Regions from separate parts of the Homo sapiens genome. Here regions 1, 3 and 4 are each linked to region 2. Evidence: promoter capture Hi-C in 16 types of primary human blood cells and fetal thymus (Javierre and others, 2016). All regions are on one chromosome and are shown on one strand. Each heading gives the region's core, a stretch centred on a gene start or on the middle of the fragment in contact. The rest is flanking DNA. Distances are from core to core; before and after follow the strand shown.

Region 1 (3,407 bases), core at 86-2,585, 200 kb before region 2:
CCAGGTTAGCCTTGGGGAAGGCAGTGACCCAGCTCTGCCGAGTTCTCAGATCAGCATGAGGATCAAGTGACAGAACCCACAGGATGGTGTTTGGTTAAATGATACGGAAATGGAAAGAGCAGTGTTTTTTAAGTAGTTTTGCTTCCTCAGACTTTTTCCTTCCCTATTCTCTGAAAGCCATTTTCCTTTCCAGCCTCCTCAGCTGTCTCTGGGCTAATGCAGCAGACCTCACCCTACCTCTCAAAAAACAAATGCAGATGAGAATGATATAGACTGGGGGTGGGGCAAGGTGAGGAGGGGGTGAGGAATAAAAGACTATATACTGAGTACAGTGTACACTGCTCCGGTGACTGGTGCACTAAAATTCAGAAATCACCACTAAAGAACTTATCTATGCAACCAAAACCACCTGAAAAACGATAGAAGTTTAAAAAATTCAAAATAATTTTTTTAAAAATGCAGAGAGACCCTTAGATCTGAGAGACAACATGAAAGTTTCCCATGTTGGAGCAGCCAGACCAGCACTTAGTGTCCTGGAAGGCACTCAACAACAGGAGCAGCCCTCGCCTCCTCTGTTCATTGCTGCCCTTGCCCCCACCCCCAGCCATTACAGAGCTGTTCCTTTGGGCTCTGTCACTAAAGAGTGGATAATGGATACTGCTTCCTCTCCCTCTCTGGTAAAGGTCCCTCCAAAAACTTACTGACCATGGCTCTATGTTTAGTGTCAAGTCTTCCCTCTTCCAATTTCTTCCCCTTCAAGTTGCCTTCCCCACAGGAGCCAGCATGATCTTTCTAAAGAAAGATGTGGCCGGGCACAGTGGCTCACGCCTGTAATCCCAGCACTTTGGGAGGCCGAGGTGGGTGGATCCTGAGGTCAAGAGTTCGAGACCAGCCTGACCAACATGATGAAACCCCGTCTCTACTAAAAATACAAAAATTAGCCAGGCGAGGTGGTGGGCACCTGTAATCCCAGCTACTCAGGAGGCTGAGGCAGGAGAATCACTTGAACCCAGGAGGCAGAGGTTGCAGTGAGCCAAGATCGTGCCACTGCACTCCAGCCTGGGTGACAGAGCGAGACTCTGTCTCAAAAAATACAATACAATACAATACAATACAGAAAGAAAGGTGTGTTCCTCCCCTCTGCACAAACTCTCCAAGTCTCCCCACTGCCCTTGTCACCCTTCCCTCCTTCGGGCATCTTGCCTGAACCTCCGTTGCTGCTGGGAGCATACACGGCTGTGTCTGAGTTGGCCTCTCTCTAAGTAGGCAATAGATCCAGGCCCCTAGGCTGTCCCCACAGCCTCTGTCTTCGGTACAGGGTAGACAACGCGCTCTGGTAAGCACTGAGTGAAATCTCCCTACTTAGCTATTCTCCTTCCTCTCTTCCTTCCCTTCCAGACCCCACCCTCTTCAAGGCTCCCTGAGTCTGTCCATTTAGTCATTCCTGCTTGCATTCATCTCCTTACTTGTTAATTTACTCATTCCAGCATCCACACATTCAACTTTCATCAAAATCTAGAGAATTGCTCATCACCAGGGGGCATCTGGATTTTATAGATACCCCAAGTGGTTCTTAGGATAAGGCCAGCTCGATGGAGATTAGGTCTGGTGGAAAAGAACCCAGGCTTTAGGGTCAGGCCAATGGGACCCAATGAGAGCTCCATCTCTTGCACAACCTTGGGAAAAGTCACTGGACCTTACTGAGCTTCAGTTTGCTCACTAGAAAATTGTTCACAATTGTATAGGGAAAAGCCTGGCACATACTGAGTAGGCTTAAGTGACAGCTATTGGGTTAATTTATGGGCAGCCAGGTGGACATAGGTAGAAGTTGAGGTATAGGCTGGGCATGGTGGCTCACGTCAGTAATCCCAGCACTTTGGGAGGCTGAGGCAGACAGATCACTGAGGTCAGAAGTTCGAGACTACCCTGGACAACATGGTAAAACCCTGTCTCTACTAAAAATACAAAAATTAGTGGGGTGTGGTGCCGTGCGTGCACTGTAATCCCAGCTACTTGGGAGGCTGAGGCACAAGAATTGTTTGAACCCGAGAGGCAGAGGTTGCAGTGAGCTGAGATCGCACCACTACACTCCAGCCTGGGCGACAGAGCGAGACTTCATCTCAAAAAAAAAAAAAAAAAAAAAAAAAAGTTGAGGTATAGAAGTCAAGGGTCACAGAAAAATTAAAATTGTCTCAAATATGTTAAACAGCAATATATTACCATCTGGCATTTCTGAAAACATAATTAAGCAATTTTTGATGGCCTTTTAAAAATTGTGGTAAAAACACACGTGACATACAATGTGCCATCTTAACCATTTCTAACGGTACAGTTCAGCAGTGTCAAATATAGTCATACTGTTTGCAATCAATCTTGGAAACTTTTCATCCTGCAAAACTGAGACTCCATATCCATTAAACGATTCCCCACTTTCACTTTCCCTAGCCCCCGCCAACCACCATTCTATTTTCCGTCTCTGTGATTTGGGCTACTGTACTGTAAGTTCCTTGTCCAAGTGGAATCATGCAATATTTGTCTTTTCGTGACTGGCTTTTCGTAATGTCCCCAAGATTTGTCCATGTTGTAAGGTGTATCCGAATTTCATTCCTTTTTAAGGCTGGGTAATATTTCATTGTATGTATGTACCACATTTTCTTTATTTATTCATCTATCAATGGACCTTTGGGTTGCTTCCACTTTTGGCTATCATGAAGAATACTGCTATGAAAATGGGCATATAAATATGTCTTTAAGACCTTTCTTTCAATTCTTTTTGGTATATATCCAGAAGTGAAATTGCAGGATTATATGGTAAGTCTATATTTAATTTTTGAAGAACTGCCACACTGTTTTCTGTAGTGGCCACACCATTTTACATTTCCATCAGCAGTGCACAAAGGTTCCAATTTCTCCACATCCTCATCAACACTTATTTCCTGTTTTGGGAGTTTTGGGTTTATAGTAGCCATCATGTTGAGTGTGAGGCGATATCTCATTGTGACTTTGATGTACATTTCTCTAATAATTAGTGATAATGAGCATCTTTTTCCATGCTTATTAGCCATTTGTATATCTTCTTTGGAGAAATGTCTATTCAAGTCATTTGCCTATTTTTAAAATTGAGTTTTCTTTTTGTTGAGTTGTAGTATTCTTTTATGTATTCTGAATTCACCCTTTATCAGGTATATGATTTGCAAATATTTTCTCCCATTCTGTATGTTGCCTGTTGATTGTCCTTTGATGGACAGAAGTTTTTAATTTTGATGTAGTCCAGTTACCTATTTTTACTTTTGTTTCCTGTGCTATTGGTCTCATATTCAATAACTCATTGCCTAATTCAATGTCATGAAACTCTTTGCCTAGGTTTTCTTCAAAGACTTTCATCATTTTTGCTTTTATGTTTATTT
Region 2 (3,062 bases), core at 392-2,891:
GAAGCAGCAGGCCAAAGAGAAGCAGGCCCAGCTAGCACAGACCCTCCAACAGCAAGAACAGGCCTCCCAGGGCCTCCGCCACCAGGTGGAGCAGCTAAGCAGTAGCCTGAAGCAGAAGGAGCAGCAGTTGAAGGAGGTAGCGGAGAAGCAGGAGGCAACTAGGCAGGACCATGCCCAGCAACTGGCCACTGCTGCAGAGGAGCGAGAGGCCTCCTTAAGGGAGCGGGATGCGGCTCTCAAGCAGCTGGAGGCACTGGAGAAGGAGAAGGCTGCCAAGCTGGAGATTCTGCAGCAGCAACTTCAGGTGGCTAATGAAGCCCGGGACAGTGCCCAGACCTCAGTGACACAGGCCCAGCGGGAGAAGGCAGAGCTGAGCCGGAAGGTGGAGGAACTCCAGGCCTGTGTTGAGACAGCCCGCCAGGAACAGCATGAGGCCCAGGCCCAGGTTGCAGAGCTAGAGTTGCAGCTGCGGTCTGAGCAGCAAAAAGCAACTGAGAAAGAAAGGGTGGCCCAGGAGAAGGACCAGCTCCAGGAGCAGCTCCAGGCCCTCAAAGAGTCCTTGAAGGTCACCAAGGGCAGCCTTGAAGAGGAGAAGCGCAGGGCTGCAGATGCCCTGGAAGAGCAGCAGCGTTGTATCTCTGAGCTGAAGGCAGAGACCCGAAGCCTGGTGGAGCAGCATAAGCGGGAACGAAAGGAGCTGGAAGAAGAGAGGGCTGGGCGCAAGGGGCTGGAGGCTCGATTACAGCAGCTTGGGGAGGCCCATCAGGCTGAGACTGAAGTCCTGCGGCGGGAGCTGGCAGAGGCCATGGCTGCCCAGCACACAGCTGAGAGTGAGTGTGAGCAGCTCGTCAAAGAAGTAGCTGCCTGGCGTGAGCGGTATGAGGATAGCCAGCAAGAGGAGGCACAGTATGGCGCCATGTTCCAGGAACAGCTGATGACTTTGAAGGAGGAATGTGAGAAGGCCCGCCAGGAGCTGCAGGAGGCAAAGGAGAAGGTGGCAGGCATAGAATCCCACAGCGAGCTCCAGATAAGCCGGCAGCAGAACGAACTAGCTGAGCTCCATGCCAACCTGGCCAGAGCACTCCAGCAGGTCCAAGAGAAGGAAGTCAGGGCCCAGAAGCTTGCAGATGACCTCTCCACTCTGCAGGAAAAGATGGCTGCCACCAGCAAAGAGGTGGCCCGCTTGGAGACCTTGGTGCGCAAGGCAGGTGAGCAGCAGGAAACAGCCTCCCGGGAGTTAGTCAAGGAGCCTGCGAGGGCAGGAGACAGACAGCCCGAGTGGCTGGAAGAGCAACAGGGACGCCAGTTCTGCAGCACACAGGCAGCGCTGCAGGCTATGGAGCGGGAGGCAGAGCAGATGGGCAATGAGCTGGAACGGCTGCGGGCCGCGCTGATGGAGAGCCAGGGGCAGCAGCAGGAGGAGCGTGGGCAGCAGGAAAGGGAGGTGGCGCGGCTGACCCAGGAGCGGGGCCGTGCCCAGGCTGACCTTGCCCTGGAGAAGGCGGCCAGAGCAGAGCTTGAGATGCGGCTGCAGAACGCCCTCAACGAGCAGCGTGTGGAGTTCGCTACCCTGCAAGAGGCACTGGCTCATGCCCTGACGGAAAAGGAAGGCAAGGACCAGGAGTTGGCCAAGCTTCGTGGTCTGGAGGCAGCCCAGATAAAAGAGCTGGAGGAACTTCGGCAAACCGTGAAGCAACTGAAGGAACAGCTGGCTAAGAAAGAAAAGGAGCACGCATCTGGCTCAGGAGCCCAATCTGAGGCTGCTGGCAGGACAGAGCCAACAGGCCCCAAGCTGGAGGCACTGCGGGCAGAGGTGAGCAAGCTGGAACAGCAATGCCAGAAGCAGCAGGAGCAGGCTGACAGCCTGGAACGCAGCCTCGAGGCTGAGCGGGCCTCCCGGGCTGAGCGGGACAGTGCTCTGGAGACTCTGCAGGGCCAGTTAGAGGAGAAGGCCCAGGAGCTAGGGCACAGTCAGAGTGCCTTAGCCTCGGCCCAACGGGAGTTGGCTGCCTTCCGCACCAAGGTACAAGACCACAGCAAGGCTGAAGATGAGTGGAAGGCCCAGGTGGCCCGGGGCCGGCAAGAGGCTGAGAGGAAAAATAGCCTCATCAGCAGCTTGGAGGAGGAGGTGTCCATCCTGAATCGCCAGGTCCTGGAGAAGGAGGGGGAGAGCAAGGAGTTGAAGCGGCTGGTGATGGCCGAGTCAGAGAAGAGCCAGAAGCTGGAGGAGAGGCTGCGCCTGCTGCAGGCAGAGACAGCCAGCAACAGTGCCAGAGCTGCAGAACGCAGCTCTGCTCTGCGGGAGGAGGTGCAGAGCCTCCGGGAGGAGGCTGAGAAACAGCGGGTGGCTTCAGAGAACCTGCGGCAGGAGCTGACCTCACAGGCTGAGCGTGCGGAGGAGCTGGGCCAAGAATTGAAGGCGTGGCAGGAGAAGTTCTTCCAGAAAGAGCAGGCCCTCTCCACCCTGCAGCTCGAGCACACCAGCACACAGGCCCTGGTGAGTGAGCTGCTGCCAGCTAAGCACCTCTGCCAGCAGCTGCAGGCCGAGCAGGCCGCTGCCGAGAAACGCCACCGTGAGGAGCTGGAGCAGAGCAAGCAGGCCGCTGGGGGACTGCGGGCAGAGCTGCTGCGGGCCCAGCGGGAGCTTGGGGAGCTGATTCCTCTGCGGCAGAAGGTGGCAGAGCAGGAGCGAACAGCTCAGCAGCTGCGGGCAGAGAAGGCCAGCTATGCAGAGCAGCTGAGCATGCTGAAGAAGGCGCATGGCCTGCTGGCAGAGGAGAACCGGGGGCTGGGTGAGCGGGCCAACCTTGGCCGGCAGTTTCTGGAAGTGGAGTTGGACCAGGCCCGGGAGAAGTATGTCCAAGAGTTGGCAGCCGTACGTGCTGATGCTGAGACCCGTCTGGCTGAGGTGCAGCGAGAAGCACAGAGCACTGCCCGGGAGCTGGAGGTGATGACTGCCAAGTATGAGGGTGCCAAGGTCAAGGTCCTGGAGGAGAGGCAGCGGTTCCAGGAAGAGAGGCAGAAACTCACTGCCCAGGTAAGGTACTCAGCCCAACCACCCT
Region 3 (3,006 bases), core at 185-2,684, 180 kb before region 2:
GCTGAGGCAGAATTGCTTGAATGTGGGAGGCAGAGGTTGCAGTGAGCTGAGACTGCGCTGGGTGTGGTGGCTCACGGTTGTAATCCCAGTACTTTTGAAGTCTGAGATGAAAGGTTTGCTTCAGGCCAGGAGTTTGAGATCAGCCTGGACGACATACCAAGATCTCCTCTTTATAAAAAAATGTAACAATTAGCCAGGTGGGGCTGGGCGCAGTGGCTCACGCCTGTAATCCCAGCACTTTGGGAGGCCAAGGCAGGCGGATCACTTGAGGTCGGGAGTTCAAGACCAGCCTGACCAACATGGAGAAACCCTGTCTCTACTAAAAATACAAAATCAGCCGGGCATGGTGGTGCATGCCTATAATCCCAGCTACTCTGGAGGCTGAGGCAAGAGAATCACTTGAACTTGGGAGGAGGAGGTTGCAGTGGGCCAAGATCATGCCATTGCACTCCAGCCTGGGCAACAAGAGCGAAACTCCATCTCAAAAAAAAAAAAAAAATTAGCCAGGTGTGGTGGCACATGGTTGCAGTCTCAAGTTGAGAGGCTGAGGTGGGAGGATCACTTGAGCCCAGGAGGCAGATGTTACAGTGAATCAAGGTCATGCCACTGCACTCCAGCCTGGTGACAGAGTGAGATCCTGTCTCAAAACAAACAAAATATTCCTGGGTGAGACCCTGTCTCAAAACAAACAAATGAAAAATTCCTGGGCTTGGCTCTAGATTGGAGCAATAGTAAAAAATGAAATTGAGAGCTACGAATGTCTCCTAAGTTAGAAAAATAGTTAAGTATCAGGCTAGTTTATAGCAACTGTCAGAGCTAGGAATTGGCCCAGTCTCACTGGTTTCAATCAATGGGAATTGGAAAACAAAACAGTCACGTTCCCATTCATATCCAAATAATTCTCAAGACACATGTGCGGTGTCTGGTTTATTCAAAGTGGCTGTCAGAGGCCCGACCATGGAGCAGGAACCAAATAGTTGGGAGCTGTGGGGCTGAACAGGGCAGGGATTTCCAGGTATCAGAAGGTAAAAGGAGGTCAGCTGAGCAGCCACAGCAGCATTAGGGCCAGGCTAAGCAGGAAAGGCCAGGCTGCCCAGGGCCCAGCCCCACTCATGGCTGCAGCATAGAACCTCGCCACCTCCTCATTGGGGTTGCCCTGGGCTGGGTCGAACCACATCTGGATGCAGCGGCCACTCCCTCGGCTGTAGTTGCTGACCTTGTAGGAGTGAGTCCAGATTTCATTGCACAGAACAGTGGGTGTGGGGAAGTAGAAATGGAAAGGTTGGCAGGCAGCTCCCACTGCGCACTTGTTAAACCCTGTAGAGAGGAGGGAAGACCTTTAGCCACTGGGCCCGGAACTATCTTGAGGTCTGCCAGCCCTACAACTCCAAATTGTCACATACCTGTTCCACACCCACACACCTCCACTTCCAAATCCCTCCATTCCTGCCCACCCCAGCCCTCACCTGAAGTCCAGTTCCAGCCCTTGTGCCAGTTGCTCTTGCAGGTGTAGGAGGTGCGACAATCTTCCCACCATTGCTCACAGTCCTCTTTGCACAGGGGCACGTTCAGTACCCGCTCTTTGCGCCAGCTCTGATCCACCTGGGTGATTTTGATACAAAAGAAGGGCTCAGGTTCAAGAATCCCAGCAACTCAGCCCCGAATAGAACTGGAGCTGGGGTTGCAGCCTGCAGAGATGCCTGGAAAGCTCAGCTGCTCCGCTAGGTCTTGTACCTGCAGGAAGCCATGCATACCTGCTGGATCCAGGGCCCCAAGTTGGGGGAGCACTCGTAGAGGCAGGTGTCCTGGATGAAATGCCGTTTGCAGGCAGGTGCCATCTCTCCACAGTGGTTCCAGTTGAATCTATATAGGTAGGAAACATCCTTATGGGCTTCCTGGCTGGTGTTGGTAGAACAGCAGGCATTCTTCCTCCAGGGTCGACACTGGATGGGGGAAGACAGAGGACTCAGTCCACAGCCAGCACAGCCAGCACAGCCAGAATATTCCACATGCAGTGTCTCCCCTCTTAGTCCTTGATTCCCCAGCCCACTGGAAGTCACCCAGGAAAATACTTGCTATTGGGACCTCTTTAGGGGAGAGGGCCGTCAGAGACAGTGGGAGCCCAAAAGGGAGCTCCTGCTGGAGTTGCAGTCATTACAAAATTTGTTAATTCAACCTTTATTGAGATCCTACTTACTCTCACCCAGGTACTTTTGTAGAAACTGGGGTTACAACAATGAACACATCACCTGATTTTTGCTTTGGACAAAAATTAAGCAGAGACGGATGGGGACTTGTAGTGTAATAGTGCGGTCAGATTAAGCCTCACTGAGGTGTCAAAGATTTGAAGGTAAAAAAGCAATTTAAATTGTAACCCCAGGCTGGGTGCAGTGGCTTACTTGTGTAATCCCAGCACTTTGGGAGGCCAAGGCAGGTGGATCACCTGAGATCAAGAGTTTGAGACCAGCCTGGCCAACATGGTGAAACCCCGTCTCTACTAAAAATATAAAAATTAGGCCGGGTGCGGTGGCTCACGCCTGTAATCCCAGCATTTTGGGAGGCCGAGGCGGGTGGATCACGAGGCTAAGAGATCAAGACCATCCTGGCCAACATGGTGAAACCCCGTCTCTACTAAAAATACAAAAAATTAGCCGGGCGTGGTGGCTGGCACCTGTAGTCCCAGCTACTTGGGAGGCTGAGGCAGGAGAATGGTGTGAACCCGGCAGGTGGAGCTTGCAGTGAGCCGAGATCATGCCACTGCACTCCAGCCTGGGCGACAGAGCAAGACTCCATCTCAAAAAATAAACAAACAAAAAACTAGCCAAGTGTGGTGGCGGACACCTGTAATCCCAGCTACTTGGGAAGTGTTTTGTCCCTGACTAGCTGCCTCACCCATTATCTGTTTGTGGAATTTGTGATACAAAAAAACAATGTATAGCCAATCAATTGTGGATGTTATTTTATTATAAGTTATTGAGAAACAACTTAGGAACTAATCTTTTTCCT
Region 4 (3,198 bases), core at 546-3,045, 250 kb before region 2:
GACCTTGTCTCAAAAGAAAAAAAAAAAGAAAAAAAAAAGCATGAGCAGCAACATCCTAGAGATTAAAAAGTGATTCAAGAGAATGGGACTCTGGGCCGGGCATGGTGGCACACGCCTGTAATCCTAACAATTTGGGAGGCTGAGGCAGTAGGATCACTTGAGCCCAGGAGTTTAATACCAGCCTGGGCAACATAGTGAGACCCCCATCTCTATTTTATTAAAAATTTAAAAAAATTTTTTTTTAATTTTTTTAAATAACAATTTAAAAATTTTTTAAAATAACAATTAAAAAAATTTTTTTAATAACAATTTTAAAAAATGGGACACTGGGCGTGGTAGCTCACACCTGTAATCCCAGCACTTTGGGAGGCCGAGGCGGGCGGATCACCTGAGGTTGGGAGTTCGAGACCAGCCTGACCAACATGGAGAAACCCCGTCTCTACTAAAAATACAAAATTAGCTGGGCGTAGTGGTTCATGCCTGTAATCCCAGCACTTTGGGAGGCCGAGGCAGGAGGATCACGAAGTCAGGAAATCAAGACCACCCTGGCCAATATGATGAAACCCCATCTCTACTCAAAATACAAAAATTAGCTGGGTGTGGCGGTGTGCAACTGTAGTCCCAGCTACTCAGATGGCTGAGGCAGAATTGCTTGAACCTGGTAGGCAAAGGTTGCAGTGAGCTGAGATCACGCCACTGCACCCCAGCCTGGAGACAAAGCAAGACTCCGTCTCAAAAAAAAAAAAAAAAAATTGAATGCAAAACTATAAAACTCCTAGAAGATAACATAAGACAAAATCTAGATGACCTTGGGTTTGGTGACGATTTTCTATGTACTTATTTATTTATTTTACTATTCTTAAAGTTTACTTACTACTATATAAATGAAGACGGTGATTTTTTTTAATACAACACCAAAAGCAGAATTCATGAAAGAAGAAACATATGTTAGACTTTACTAAAATTAAAAGCTTCTATTCTGCAAAAGATGCTTTTGAGAGAATGAAGACAAACCACGAACTGGGATAAAATCTTTGTAAAACACATATAAAGGACTGGTGTCCAAAATATACAAGAACTTTTCAAACTTGACAATAAAGAAACAATCACCCGATTTAAAAATTAGCAAAAGATAGGAACAGACACCTCACCAAAGGATATGTGCAGACAGCAAATAAATACATGAAAGATGCTCAACATTATGTCATCAGGGAATTGCAAATTAAAACAATAAATGAGATATCACTATGTACCTACTAGAATGGCTTAAATCCAAAACGCTGACGACAACAACTCATTAAGGCATTCAGGGTACCGAGTACTTTCTGCTATTTAGGATTTATCAGCACTTTATCATAATCATAGTTCGCCAGTGTAACGTGTTATGGGACTTTAAGATTATCAAAGTCCCTGTGTACTAAATTGTGGCACAGAGGCAGAGAGCTGACATAGTTCTTGAAGCAAAATAGTGAAAATGTACTTCTGCCCCTGCCAGGATAAACAAAATTACCTCTGGTCTTCTTTGCTTATTGAAATAGGGAAAAAACATTTGCAAGTTAATAACTTCATCGCAGGTGGGAGAGGCGCTGTTGATTTGCTCTAGTGGAGAAACCACATCTGCAAGAGCAATGCAACTGGAGTCATCACCTGTCTTAAACTTTCAATCATCCACCGTCATTCTCAAAGGCCCTTCTGACTTCTTTGTGAGCCAAACAGGTAAATTAAATGGATAAGTAACAAGAATTTTCACCTCTAAATTTTCAGATCTTTGATGGTTGCACTAATCTCGCATTTCCCCCAGCAAGGCATTATTGCTCTTTGTTTATAATTTAAATAGGGAGGAAGGTTTAGTGCTTTTGCTCGACCCTTTCAACCACATATTCCATGGACTGGAGAAACATGGGGATTCTGCCATTTGCTGAATGCATCTAGTCTAACTATACACTCGGGAACTAAAGAAATGATGGGAAAATGGGTTTAAGAACTGGGATGATAGTAAGGTAGACTGAAATCAAAAGTTGCAGCCAGGCACAGTGGCTCACACCTGCAATCCTAGCACTTTGGGAGGCCAAGGCAGGAGGATCACTTGAGCCCAGAGTTCGAGACCAGCCTAGGCAACATGGTGAGATCCCTGTCTTTACAAAAATTTAAAAAGAAAAAAAAAAGGTAGCTAGCCATGGTGGCACACGCCTGTAGTTCCAGCTAATCAGGAGGCTGAGACAAGGGGATGGCTTCAGTACAGGAGTTCGAGGCTGTAGTGGGTTATGATCATGCCACTGCACTCCACCCTGGGCAACATAGCAAGACCCTGTCTCAGAAAAAAAATCAAAAGTCAATTTATCACTTGACTCCATAAGCCTTCATTCACTCTGAGTGATTCATTAATCACTGTGCCAACTACAACTCCAAAGATTAGCATTAGAGCCAATGTCCAACACTCCCAAGGTCACAGTTACTGGATCTGTTTCCTAGGGCTGCCATAACAAAATATTATACACAAGGTAGCCTGAAACCACGGAAATTTATTCTCCATCTTCACATGGTGTTCCCTCTGTGTCCAAATTTCTCCTTTTTTATAAGGTTAGAAAAAGAAAGAAAAGAAAAGAAAAAAAAGCTTCTTCTAAGGAGACCATCATTGGATTAGGGCTAAACCAGTATGACCTCACCTTAACCTGATTGCAAATAAACTATTTCAAAATAAGGTCACCTATTTCACAGGTACTGGGGACCAGAACTTCAACATATCTTTTGGAGGAGACACAATTAAACCTACAATAGCTATCCTGGAAAATGACCACAGGCCTTTCTGGGGGACCCTATAAGGAATACAAAGGGAGGCAGGGCACTGTGGCTCATACCTGCAATCCCAGCACTTTGGGAGGCCGAGGTGGGCAGATCACTTGAGGTCAGGATTTCTAGACCAGCCTGGCCAACATGATGAAGCCCTGTCTCTACTAAAAACACAAAAATTAGCCGGGCATGGTGGTGGGCACTTGTAATCCCAGCTACTCAGGAGGCCGAGGCAAGACAATTGCTTGAACCCGGGAGGTGGAGGTTGCAGTGAGCCAGAATCATGCCACTGCACTCCAGCCTGGGTGACAGAGTGAGACTCTGTAAAAAAAAAAAAAAAAAAAAAAAAAGAAAGAAAGAAAGAAAGAAAGAAAGAAAGAAAGAAAGAAAGAAAGAAATATATAAGGA

The links. Contacts are between HindIII fragments. The CHiCAGO score rates a contact against its expected background, and 5 or more counts as called.
Region 1: the fragment with the promoter of FOLR2 here is called in contact with the fragment with the promoter of NUMA1-AS1 in region 2 in 2 of 17 cell types (erythroblasts and neutrophils); the score reaches 6.3 in erythroblasts.
Region 3: a fragment that was not itself captured here is called in contact with the fragment with the promoter of NUMA1-AS1 in region 2 in 2 of 17 cell types (erythroblasts and M1 macrophages); the score reaches 6.1 in erythroblasts.
Region 4: a fragment that was not itself captured here is called in contact with the fragment with the promoter of NUMA1-AS1 in region 2 in 1 of 17 cell types (erythroblasts); the score reaches 5.6 in erythroblasts.

What each region holds. Positions count from the first base shown.
Region 1 is chr11:72,214,722-72,218,128 of GRCh38, reverse strand. It overlaps FOLR2 (folate receptor beta), which reads right to left and starts at 1,335. Exons shown (of 5, transcript NM_000803.5): 1 at 1,204-1,335. The HindIII fragment of the contact is 32,333 bases long and covers 1-3,407 here.
Region 2 is chr11:72,012,870-72,015,931 of GRCh38, reverse strand. NUMA1-AS1 (NUMA1 antisense RNA 1) reads right to left here and starts at 1,641. Exons shown (of 4, transcript NR_104178.2): 1 at 1-1,641. It overlaps NUMA1 (nuclear mitotic apparatus protein 1), which reads left to right. Exons shown (of 27, transcript NM_006185.4): 15 at 1-3,037. RefSeq lists an enhancer at 240-987. The HindIII fragment of the contact is 6,447 bases long and covers 1,636-3,062 here.
Region 3 is chr11:72,194,208-72,197,213 of GRCh38, reverse strand. It overlaps FOLR1 (folate receptor alpha), which reads right to left. Exons shown (of 4, transcript NM_016729.3): 2 at 1,755-1,943; 3 at 1,467-1,602; 4 at 915-1,317. The coding sequence ends at 1,037. The region is part of intron 2 of FOLR1-AS1 (FOLR1 antisense RNA 1); the gene reads left to right. Among named protein-coding and RNA genes, the nearest start is that of FOLR1, 3.6 kb to the right of the region's middle. The HindIII fragment of the contact is 3,293 bases long and covers 1-3,006 here.
Region 4 is chr11:72,258,922-72,262,119 of GRCh38, reverse strand. No RefSeq gene overlaps it. Among named protein-coding and RNA genes, the nearest start is that of PHOX2A, 16 kb to the right of the region's middle. The HindIII fragment of the contact is 1,643 bases long and covers 974-2,616 here.